3 separate regions of the Homo sapiens genome follow, and regions 2 and 3 are each linked to region 1. The links are contacts of gene promoters, found by promoter capture Hi-C in human tissues and cell types (Jung and others, 2019). All regions are on one chromosome and are shown on one strand. Each heading gives the region's core, a stretch centred on a gene start or on the middle of the fragment in contact. The rest is flanking DNA. Distances are from core to core; before and after follow the strand shown.

The links. The method cuts DNA at HindIII sites, captures the fragments that hold promoters and counts their contacts. A contact is called where the count stands out against the background at its distance.
Region 2: a contact is called between a fragment that was not itself captured here and the fragment with the promoter of TTC7B in region 1, in 2 of the 25 tissues and cell types used here (dorsolateral prefrontal cortex and mesenchymal stem cells).
Region 3: a fragment that was not itself captured here is called in contact with the fragment with the promoter of TTC7B in region 1 in 1 of the 25 tissues and cell types used here (dorsolateral prefrontal cortex).

What each region holds. Positions count from the first base shown.
Region 1 is chr14:90,815,077-90,818,510 of GRCh38, reverse strand. It overlaps TTC7B (tetratricopeptide repeat domain 7B), which reads left to right and starts at 2,081. Exons shown (of 20, transcript NM_001010854.2): 1 at 2,081-2,336. The coding sequence starts at 2,216. RefSeq lists a silencer at 1,908-2,087. The HindIII fragment of the contact is 18,929 bases long and covers 1-3,434 here.
Region 2 is chr14:90,648,428-90,651,778 of GRCh38, reverse strand. All of the region lies in intron 13 of TTC7B (tetratricopeptide repeat domain 7B), which reads left to right. TTC7B-AS1 (TTC7B antisense RNA 1) reads right to left here. Exons shown (of 5, transcript NR_110134.1): 5 at 2,888-3,351. Among named protein-coding and RNA genes, the nearest start is that of TTC7B-AS1, 7.5 kb to the right of the region's middle. The HindIII fragment of the contact is 3,294 bases long and covers 3-3,296 here.
Region 3 is chr14:91,042,948-91,046,062 of GRCh38, reverse strand. The region is part of intron 1 of RPS6KA5 (ribosomal protein S6 kinase A5); the gene reads left to right. Among named protein-coding and RNA genes, the nearest start is that of RPS6KA5, 16 kb to the left of the region's middle. The HindIII fragment of the contact is 6,308 bases long and covers 1-3,115 here.

The DNA.
Region 1 (3,434 bases), core at 832-3,331:
ATTGGTAAACTGAGGTCCACAGTGTGTGTTCTTCATCAACTCCGGTGGTGGGGGAGTTGTGGTGGGGATAAGAACCTGCGTGTGACTGCTCTTGGAAAGTTGGAGTAAGGGCACCCAGAAGGAATGACGACGACCCCTCAGTGCCTCCTTGTGACTGCGGGCGGGCTACGGAACCTTCCAGACTGACCGCTTCACTCTCAAATGCAGGACCCAGAATCCAACACTGCCACCACCACAGCTATTTCCCTGGCAGTATTCTCAACACTGCAGTCACAGTGATAGTCCAAAGTGTAGGTCTGATCATGCCACTCTTCCGTGAAAAGCCCTGCAGGGCTGCTCCATGTCACCAGAGTAAAAGTCAAAGTTTTTTTTTTTTTTTTTGAGACGGAGTCTCTCTCTGTTGCCCAGGCTGGAGTGCAGTGCTGCCATCTCAGCTCACTGCAAACTCCGCCTCCCGGGTTCACACCATTCTCCTGCCTCAGCCTCCCCAGCAGCTGGGACTACAGGCGCCTGCCACCACGCCCGGCTAATTTTTAAAAATATTTTTAGTAGAGACGGGTTTCACCATGTTAGCTAGGACGGTCTCGATCTTCTGACCTCGTGATCCGCCCACCTCGGCCTCCCAAAGTGCTGGGATTACAGGCGTGAGCCACCGTGCCCAGCCAAAAGCCAAGGTCTTATAATGGCCCACCAGGCACTACACAGAACTCCCCCCAACCTCTCAGAGTTCATCTCCTGCCTCGGCCCCTCTCCTTCGCTCCACCCAGCCCCTCTGGCCTCTGCCATTTCTCCATCCCACCCAGTGTGCTCTAACCCCAGAGCCTTCGCACTTGTGGTGTTCTCTGCCTGGGATACTCCTCCCCCAGAGATATCCTCATGGCTCCCCCTTAGTTTCTTCAAGTCTAATGCCACCTCCGTGAGGCCATCCCTGACTGCTCCATTTTAAATGGCAACACTTGCTCAGGCTGAAGTGCGTTCACTGCTCACTGCAGCCTCCACCTTCTGGGCTCAAGCAATCATCCTGCCTCAGCCTCCTGAGTAGCTGGGATTACAGGCATGAGCCACCCGCCTGTCCCAACTCTTTATGTTCCTCACTGAACCCTTCCCTGTTTCTTCAAATAGCCATTTTTACAGTCTAGTTTACTATTTTATTTTGCTTATTTTTCCCCCAAACTGGAATGTAAGCTCTCTCAAGCCAGGAATTTTGTTTTTTTAGCTCACAATTCTATCTCTGGCACCTAAAGCAGCGCCCAGCACATAGTAGGTGATCACTAGACAGTTGATTCACTGAGAGAACACAGAGGGACACCTCCCTAGGTCTCAGTCTAGGTGGCCAAGACAGGAGGCCCCACCAGTGACTGTGCCTTCCCCTCAGGGGGTCCGAGAGCTGGCGTGTGAGAGTGGCAGCCCCTGCCTGGCTCCGCTCAGCCATCTAGGGCACCCCTGGCAGGTGCTGTGCCTTGCCTGGGATGGAGGAGTCTCCGTCCACCTCTGGCTGGGTAGGGGCTAAGGCTGCGGGGCAGAGGGGCATCTGCTAAGGGGCACAGGCCAACCGGGCCCCAGGGAACCGCTGGCCACCTGAGATGGCAGGACAAACTCGGGCAGGCCTCCCCCCACCCCTCACACCTGGCTCACTGGTCCCACCGGGCGGTGACCTTCCCCAGGGTCACTGCCCTTTCTTGGCCCTACTCCTGGGGATCCAACCCGCTCCCAGGCTGTCGCTAGCTCCCTCCCGATCCTCTCCCTCCCCTTCATCCTGCCCAGACCCCTACCCCACCAGACCCCTCACCCGCCCTTGGTCAGATCTCTCTCCTACCCCGCTCCCCCACCCCCATCCCCACTTCCCCTCGGTCTTCACCCCGCCCCAGACACCCCCAGTCCCTCTCCCTGTCCTCCATGCCCACCCCGCCTTTCCTCCCTCGGGCCCCTGTCTCCCGCCCTAGCCCCCGCCCCTGCCCCAGCCCTGGCTCCGGCCCCGGTCAGTGCTGCGGCTCCGGCCCTGGCCGGCAGGGGCCGCTCCTCGCGGCGCCCGGGGCCCCGCCGCGCCCGCCGCCGCCGCCCGCCTCCCCGCCCCTTCCCCAGCCGGCGCTCCCGTTACGCCGCGGAGCCGGGAGCCGGAGCCCGAGCCCGCGGCGGCGGCGGGAGGCGGCGAGGGGGCGCCGCGGCGGCGGCGGTGGGGCCTGCGGGGCGGGCGGCCGGGCCCGGCCAGGCCGCGATGGCGACCAAGAAGGCAGGCTCGCGGCTGGAGACGGAGATCGAGCGCTGCCGCTCCGAGTGCCAGTGGGAGCGGATCCCTGAGCTCGTCAAGCAGCTGTCGGCCAAGCTCATCGCCAACGGTACGCTCCGGGCGCGCCGGCCTGGGCTGCGGGGGGCGCCGCGGCCTCCGCGGGAACGGGCCCCCGAGGCGCGGCCGGGCGCGGGGCGCGGGCAGGGGCGCGGCCGGGCCGCGAGGGAGCTGCGGCCCAGGGGATGTGCGCGGGACCGGGGCCTGGGGGAGCCCGGGTGCCCCGGAGTCACGCGGTGTGGGGGCCCGGGGGGGCGCCAGGGGCTGTCCCGGCGCCTGGGGTTCAAGCGTGCAGGGCGGGCTTCTGCGGAGTCTGGGGTGTCCGGGGGTCTCAGCGAGTCCGCTGCTCCACTGGGACCACAGGAGGTCAGGGGCCGGCCTGGGGCTTCCAAGAAGTTGGAGGTGATGGGGTGAGGGGGTCCCTCAGGACATGGGTGAAGTCCACAGTGTGTGTATGGTGTGCTCAGGGAATCAGGATGTGTTTATGGGGTCTTGAGAATGGGGTGTTGTACATAGACCCCTGGGGAATCTGGTTTGTAAACATATGGTGTTTAAGGGGTTCTGGGTGGAAGCGCAGACTCGAGGTGTGTGGGGTGGTGGTAGAAAGCAGGCTGGGATGTGCGTCCTGGCGTTCGGAGAAGTAGCATCAAGGCTGCCGACCTAGAGAGGTCAGGGTTGGGAATAGAGGAGAAATAGAGTCAGGGGGACCTGGAGGGAGAATATTGTGGAGCGAGATGGGAATGTGGTTGAAGAATGTCGGGAGATGGAGTTGGGTGGGTGAGGGGTTGGTGCCTGGGCCAGAAGGGGGTCTGAGGCAGCCTCTGAGTAGGAGCCTGGTGCCTGGAGTTGGTTCATGACCCCTTTAACTGGATTGGTTCTTGTACCCAATCAAATAAAATTGCATCCAGAATCCCATTCCAGTGCACAGCTCCACGTGGCCTTATTTGTTTTGGAAGCGAGTATCTTTAATATTTGCTTGTCTTTTAGTACCCGCCTAAAGCGCAGGCACCAGCACACCGTGGCCAGAGGGCAGAGGGTTTGTCTCATTTCATCCTGGGCTTCCCCAGGCCCAGTGAGCACATGTTGGCTGAACAAATGAATGAAAGAGTGAATGAATGGATGGCGGGGCTGCTCTAAGAAAGGACATCTG
Region 2 (3,351 bases), core at 400-2,899, 170 kb after region 1:
CTCATTTCTGTTTCCTAGCAGGCTTGCCGGTAGCTACTTCAGGTTGCCAGCCCCAGTCTGGGTATTGACAAAAAGTACCAACTGACATCTGCAAACAGATCTCCTGTCTCTGTGCTAAGCTTTTGTTGATGTTCCTCAGCACGGAGTGTGGAAAGCATTTCCATTTCAAATGATTTGGAGTTTTAAATTCTCCAGTCCTAGTTTGTAAAACCCACACATGGATGCTTAAGAAAGTGGTCATTACATCTGTTTCACTTTTCTTAAATCAGCACATCTTACTGGCTCTCTAAAAACAGCCACAGTGGTGGTCTGCCTTGAGCTGCCAGTATAACTTCATGTTATATAACAGCTGCTCCATTGGCCTGAATTCTTTTTTGTTCATCTTTTGCTTAAGTTTAAATTCGAAGAGATTTTTAAAATATTAGTTCATATGGGAATAAAGAGTAATAAAATCCCGCTAACCTAACTGATGATATTGCAGAAGGCTAACCTAAATTAGAATTTGTGTGAAATATAGAATGTTTTTCATTTTATTTCAAGTACACATTAACTAGGACTATTCTAGTGAATTGCAGTCCTAACAAAAATCTTTAAGGGAAAGATTTTAAGTAAGTGAAAATGATTTGTATTACTTCTTAAATGTAAATGGATAATTTAAAACTACTTTGATGAGAAGTACTTTCTCTACTATTTGTTTTAAATATTCTCCCCACAATTCTGTTTATACTAATGTTTTGCATTTTTTGTTTAAAAAGAAAACACAATTCAGGAAGGGATGGGGTTGCAGATATAGCACAAGAAAGTTAACTCTTAATTATGACTGCCAGAATTCAGACATATTTGTTCTCTAGTGGATCCAAAGAGGTGATTTTTGAAGACATCCAGGTTGGGTGGCTGCATCTGAATGTGAGACCCTCACCTGTTCCTACACTCATAAGCTCAACCCAGGCAGCTGAACCAATTCATTTGCCCTGTACTAAAGTATAGTGAAGAAGAACATAATATTGTTTGCAAAGCTTCTGAAGATGCTGAATTGATATGACTTGCTTCTTCTGCAGGCTCTCACATCCTACTGAGAAAAGCCATCCTGAAAACAGTTGAGAGCACCTTTCATTGCATGGCCCACAGTATGCATAAAGCCTGGTGCTCCAGGAGGCAGGGGTGGCATGGTGGTGTTTGTTTATCACTCATTGTGGCACAGGGTACACGATCTTGCTTTGCTTTCCCCTTTCTGTCCTAGCTTGAGTTTAAGTGTGGTATGATGTGTGCATATAGGGTGATCAGCCATCCCAATCTCTTGAGGACTGAGCGTTTTCCCAGAACATGGGACTTGCAGTGCTAAAATCAGGAACATCCTGGACAAACCAGGACAAGTTGGTCACCCTGTGTGAGTAACTAACGAGAGATTCCTGAGCAATAGATTTAACCAGGGTTTGCACTTTTTAAAAAACTTAATGCACGAATCCCATGGCCCCTGTAATCAGGACTGAAGGGAAATTCAAGGAGAATTGGCTAAACAAGGCAGCAAGGTTCTGGCTTTCTCTCATTTGCTGGCTGTTCTTGGACAAGAAGCGTAATAGTCGATAACTTCACAAATTGTAGTTACTATTGTTACAAGATATGTGTCTTATGGACTAGGGTCAGCATTGATCAGCCTTCTCTATATTCTTGGTTCAGCTCTAGAGAATGTTGGAAATGGAATCTAAGAGAGCCCTGGGTTAGATGCCACAACATCCTTGGGTTCTAGCCAGGTGATCTGGGAAGCCCATCCGATGCTTTCCAGTAGCAGCCCAGCATGCCTATCTCTGGGCACTGCTCCCACTGCACGATGATGATGGTCATTCTGGGTCTCTCCCTCTGGGGCGGGGGTGGGAGCTCATCAAGGAAAGGCACTAGCATGATTCATCTCCATGCTCCCCAGAAGTTAGCATAGGGCCTGGCATCACATTATAGATATTGCATAATGTGGATGGGTGGATGGTGGATGGATGGGTAGGTGGATGGTTGGATGGTGGATGGATGGATAGGTGGATGGGTGGGTGGTTGGCTGGGTGGATGGGTGGGTAAGTGGATAAAAGGATGAGTGGGTTCTTCTTCATGGGAGAGAAACTGAATTAATTATGTGGAGGTGCTTTGATAAGGGAAGCATTTTGTGAGCATCCTTGTGGTGACATTTTTAGGTCTTTTAGGTATTTCTGAGCAGTCTAGCCAGGTGTTCAGTTTATGGGCACGGAGTTTATGAGGCTGCTTTAGATTCATTTACAGAGTTCAGAAGGCTTGCAATTTTTCTGATCACTAATGTCCTCTCTCTCATCTGCCTGGCCTGAGGATTTCTGTCCGGCGAGTTGCCTGTGGCATACCAAAGGGGCTTTCCCACAGGAAGCTTAGCTGCTGAAGTTGCTCCACGGGAAGCAAGTATTTTAGCATCTACTTGAGATCAACACAGGGAGCTTTTTCTTGTTTTGTTTGGCATTTGCCTTATTTCCTTCAGAGGGTGAAGTGGTCAGTTGAATTCATTAGCCAAGTTGTAGAAATAAGGTTTTTAAAATGTATATGTTTCAGTTGTGCCTCATTAGAAATTTGGCAGTTGAATATGCATCATTAGCCAAGTTGGAAATCCTTCAGATGTTGCCCTAATGCACTCCAGAAATACCAAGATTTCTAGCACTTCTGGTTTGTTCCTTTCACGGTGCTGTGGTTAACAGAGAAAAATCATTTGATGAGGCCAGCATGGGGCCTTTAGCCAGAACTATCTTTATGTACACCCTCAACTCAACAGATCATTGCCAGCTTTTCAGTTGGTTGGTATTGCATAGAGGCAACCATGACTTGATTTATTCGTGAAGAATATGAATTGAACTGAGAAAATTATAATTCTAAGAAGTTCTTTTTGAGGGTTCTGTAAATTTATTATTTGTGAAAGAAGATAAAATAAATCTAAAAATTTCTTCATAATTGTGTATTATTTTTCCTGAATAATTATGAGAGAAACCATGATTTTTCAATCTCACTTTTATAAACACCAAAGAAAAATATTCTTTGATGTACAAATTCATGGAAAGCCAATATTTGTAAAATTATAAAAGCTGCTATATACTGAGTGGACCTTAGAAATAAGCCATTTAGTAGCTGGGCGTGGTGGCTTATGCCTGTAATCCCAGGGTTTTGGGATGCCAAAGTGGGAGGATCACTTGAGCCTAGTAGTTCCAGACTAGCCTGGATAGCATGTTGAAACCCCGGGTCTACAAAAAATTCTATAAATTAGCTGGGCGTGGGGAGCACGCCTGTGGTCCCAGCACCTTGGGAGGCTAAGATGGGAGGATCGCTTGGGCCCTGGGAGGTTGAGGCTGC
Region 3 (3,115 bases), core at 522-3,021, 230 kb before region 1:
GGCAAGCTTCTGGGAAGCAGTCGTGTTGAAGCTGAGGCCCTGGTTGTTGTGGGGTGAAGAGCGGGGAAACAAAGCCTTTCTATCAAAGGAAGCAACACAGATGGTCTTCCAACACAATGGGAAATGGCTTGGCACACTGGAGTTACTGGAAGGAAGGTGTCTGGCTTGAGTGTGACATTCAAGCAGGAGAGTCACAGGAAATGGGGCTGAGAAGGGAGCCAGGGCCATTTCATGCAGGGGTTTCTAGAGTTTAGACATTGAGTGTCATGTGAAGCCATTGAAAGATTTCCAGTTGAAGAATGATGAGATTAGTTTTGCTTTGTAACAAGATGACTCCTATTTCTGTGAGGAGAGTGGGTATAGAGATTATATGAAGGGAAACCAGGTAGGAAACTACTGTGGAAATTCAAATGGAATATAAAGGTTTAGAATAGGTAACAATTGAGATTAACAATTGTGAATGTGTTTGAGATTCACTTAGGAAATAAGAATCAGCAAAGGCCAGGCGCGGTGGCTCATGCCTGCAATCCCAGCACTTTGGGAGGCCAAGGCAGGCAGATCACCTGAGGTCAGAGATTCGAGACCAGCCTGGCCAACACGGCGAAACCCCATCTCTACTAAAAATACAAAAATTAGCCAGGCATGATGGCAGGTGCCTGTAATCCCAGTTACTCAGGAGGCTGAGTGGGAGAATTGCTTGAACCTGGGACACAGAGGTTGCAGTGAGCCAAGATCACGCCGTTGATTGCACTCCAGCCTGGGTGACTGAGCAAGACTCCATCTCAAAAAAAAAAAAAAAAAAGAATCAGCAGAACTTGGTATTGTATTGACATGGGGTTTTGTGGCTGGAACAAATGTGTGTTTGAAGATGCTGTTTATTGAAATGATGTAATTATTTTCTATTGCTGCATAACAAATTACCACAAATGTAGTGGCTTGTAATAGCATCCATTTATTAGCTCTCAGTTTAGTAGATTATAAATCCTTATGAGACCTAAATTATTGTGTTAGCCAGACTGAGTTCTTGTCTGGAGGCTGTGGGTAAAAATCTACTTCCAAACTCATTTTTGTTGGTAGAATTCAGTTCCTGTATTTGTTCCCCAAGGTTCCAGTTTCCTTGCTGGCTGTTAGCTGGGGGTTATCTTCATTCTTCTCATTTGTCTCTTCCACCTTTTTTTTTCTTTTTTTTTTTTTTGACACGTCTCGCTCTGTTGCCCAGGCTGGAGTGCAATGGTGCGGTCTCGGCTCACTGCAACCTCTGCCTCCTGAGTTCAAGCGATTCTCCTGCCTCAGCTTCCCGAGTAGCTGGGATTACAGGTGCCTGCCACCACACCTGGCTAATTTTTATAGTTTTAGTACAGACGGGGTTTCACCATGTTGGCCAGGCTGGTTCGAACTGCTGACCTCGTGATTCACCCGCCTCGGCCTCCAAAAGTGCTGGAATTACAGGCGTGAGCCACCGCACCCAGCCTGGGTCTTCAATCTTTAATCCAGTAAAAGTGTGTCAAATCCTTTCCATACTTTAACTTTCTGACTTCTAAACCCCCTTCTGTCTGACCTCTAGGTACGGATTTAAAGGGACTCATGTAATTAGGTTAGGCCTACTTGGGTAATTTTCTTTCTTTCTTTCTTTCTTTCTTTCTTTCTTTCTTTCTTTCTTTCTTTCTTTCCTTCTTTCTTTCTTTCCTTCTTTCTTTCTCTTTCTTTCTTTCTTTCTTTCTTTGTCTATCTTTCTCTCTCTCTTTCTCTCTCTCTCTTTCTCTCTCTTTCTCTCTCTCTCTCTTTCTTTCTCTCTCTCTCCCTCTCTCTCTCCCCCTCTCTCCCCCATCTCTTTCTCTCTTTCGTTTTACTCTTGTTGCCCAGGCCAGAGTGCAATGGCGCGATCTCGACTCACTGCAGCCTCCACCTCCTGGGTTCAAGCGATTCTCCTGCCTGAGCCTCCCAAGTAGCTGGGATTACAAGTGCCCACCACCATGCCCAGCTAATTTTTGTATTTTTAGTAGAGATAGGGTTTCACCATATTGGCCAGGCTGATCTTGAACTCCTGACCTCAGGTGATCCACCCTCCTTGGCCGCCAAAAGTGCTGGTATTACAGGCGTGAGCCACTGCGTCCTGCCTACTTGGATAATTTTCTTATCGTAAGGTCAGTTGATTTAGGACCATAATTACATCTGCAAAATCCCTTTATCACAAGTGTGTGATTTCGTGATATTCACTCACTCAAGGGGAGGAGATTATACAAAGGCTAGGGTCATTGGGGTCATCTAAGAATTCCTCCTTAGAAGTCACAGAAGATAGTGAACCAGGGGAAATGCGTATCGGGGTGGGCAGAAAAGATAGGATCCAGTTTTGTACCTATCAAAGTAAGTTTGAGATGCCTTTGACATATTCTGATGGACATCTATGGTATAAGTAATCATAGATAATGTGCTAGATAGTAGGTGCTTTCATCAACTCATTTAACCTAAACAGCAACCCAGTGAAGTGAGAATTATTATTATTCTTCTTCCAATCTACGTATAGGAAAACTGAGTCTTAGTGTGCTCACCGGCTTGTTCAGGGTTACTCAAGAAGTAAGTAGAAGAATCGGTTGTGAAACTGAAGCAGTTTGGCCACAAGGCCCATCTAAAGCACTGTGCTTAGTGGGATCAGTAGGATATGGGTCAGGAGCTTGTAAAAGAGGTCTGGGTTGCAGATTAAAATCCTAGCATCATTGACCATTAGATGACATTTAAAGCCAAGGTAGTAGGTTAGATCATCTTAGGAGAGATTTTAGAGTGGAGAGGAAGAAGACTCAGAATTGAGTCCTGAAAAACTCCCAAAATTAAAGGAATCGATAGAAAAAGAGTTGCTAAGAAATGATACAGAGGAGGAACAGCCAGAAGAAAAACCAGGAGAAAACCTAGGAAAGTTGTGGTGTTTGGAAGCTAAGGAGAAAAGATGCTTTAGGGGGTGGCAGGGGATCAATTTGACTGACTACCTAATGGCCTCATCAAGAACAATTTTGGTGGAGATTTGGTGGGAGAAGCCGGATTGGAATGGATTGAGGAGTGAATGCAGGTGAAGATAACTTTTGAGAGACTTGGTTCTGGAGGATATTAAAGAGAGGGACTT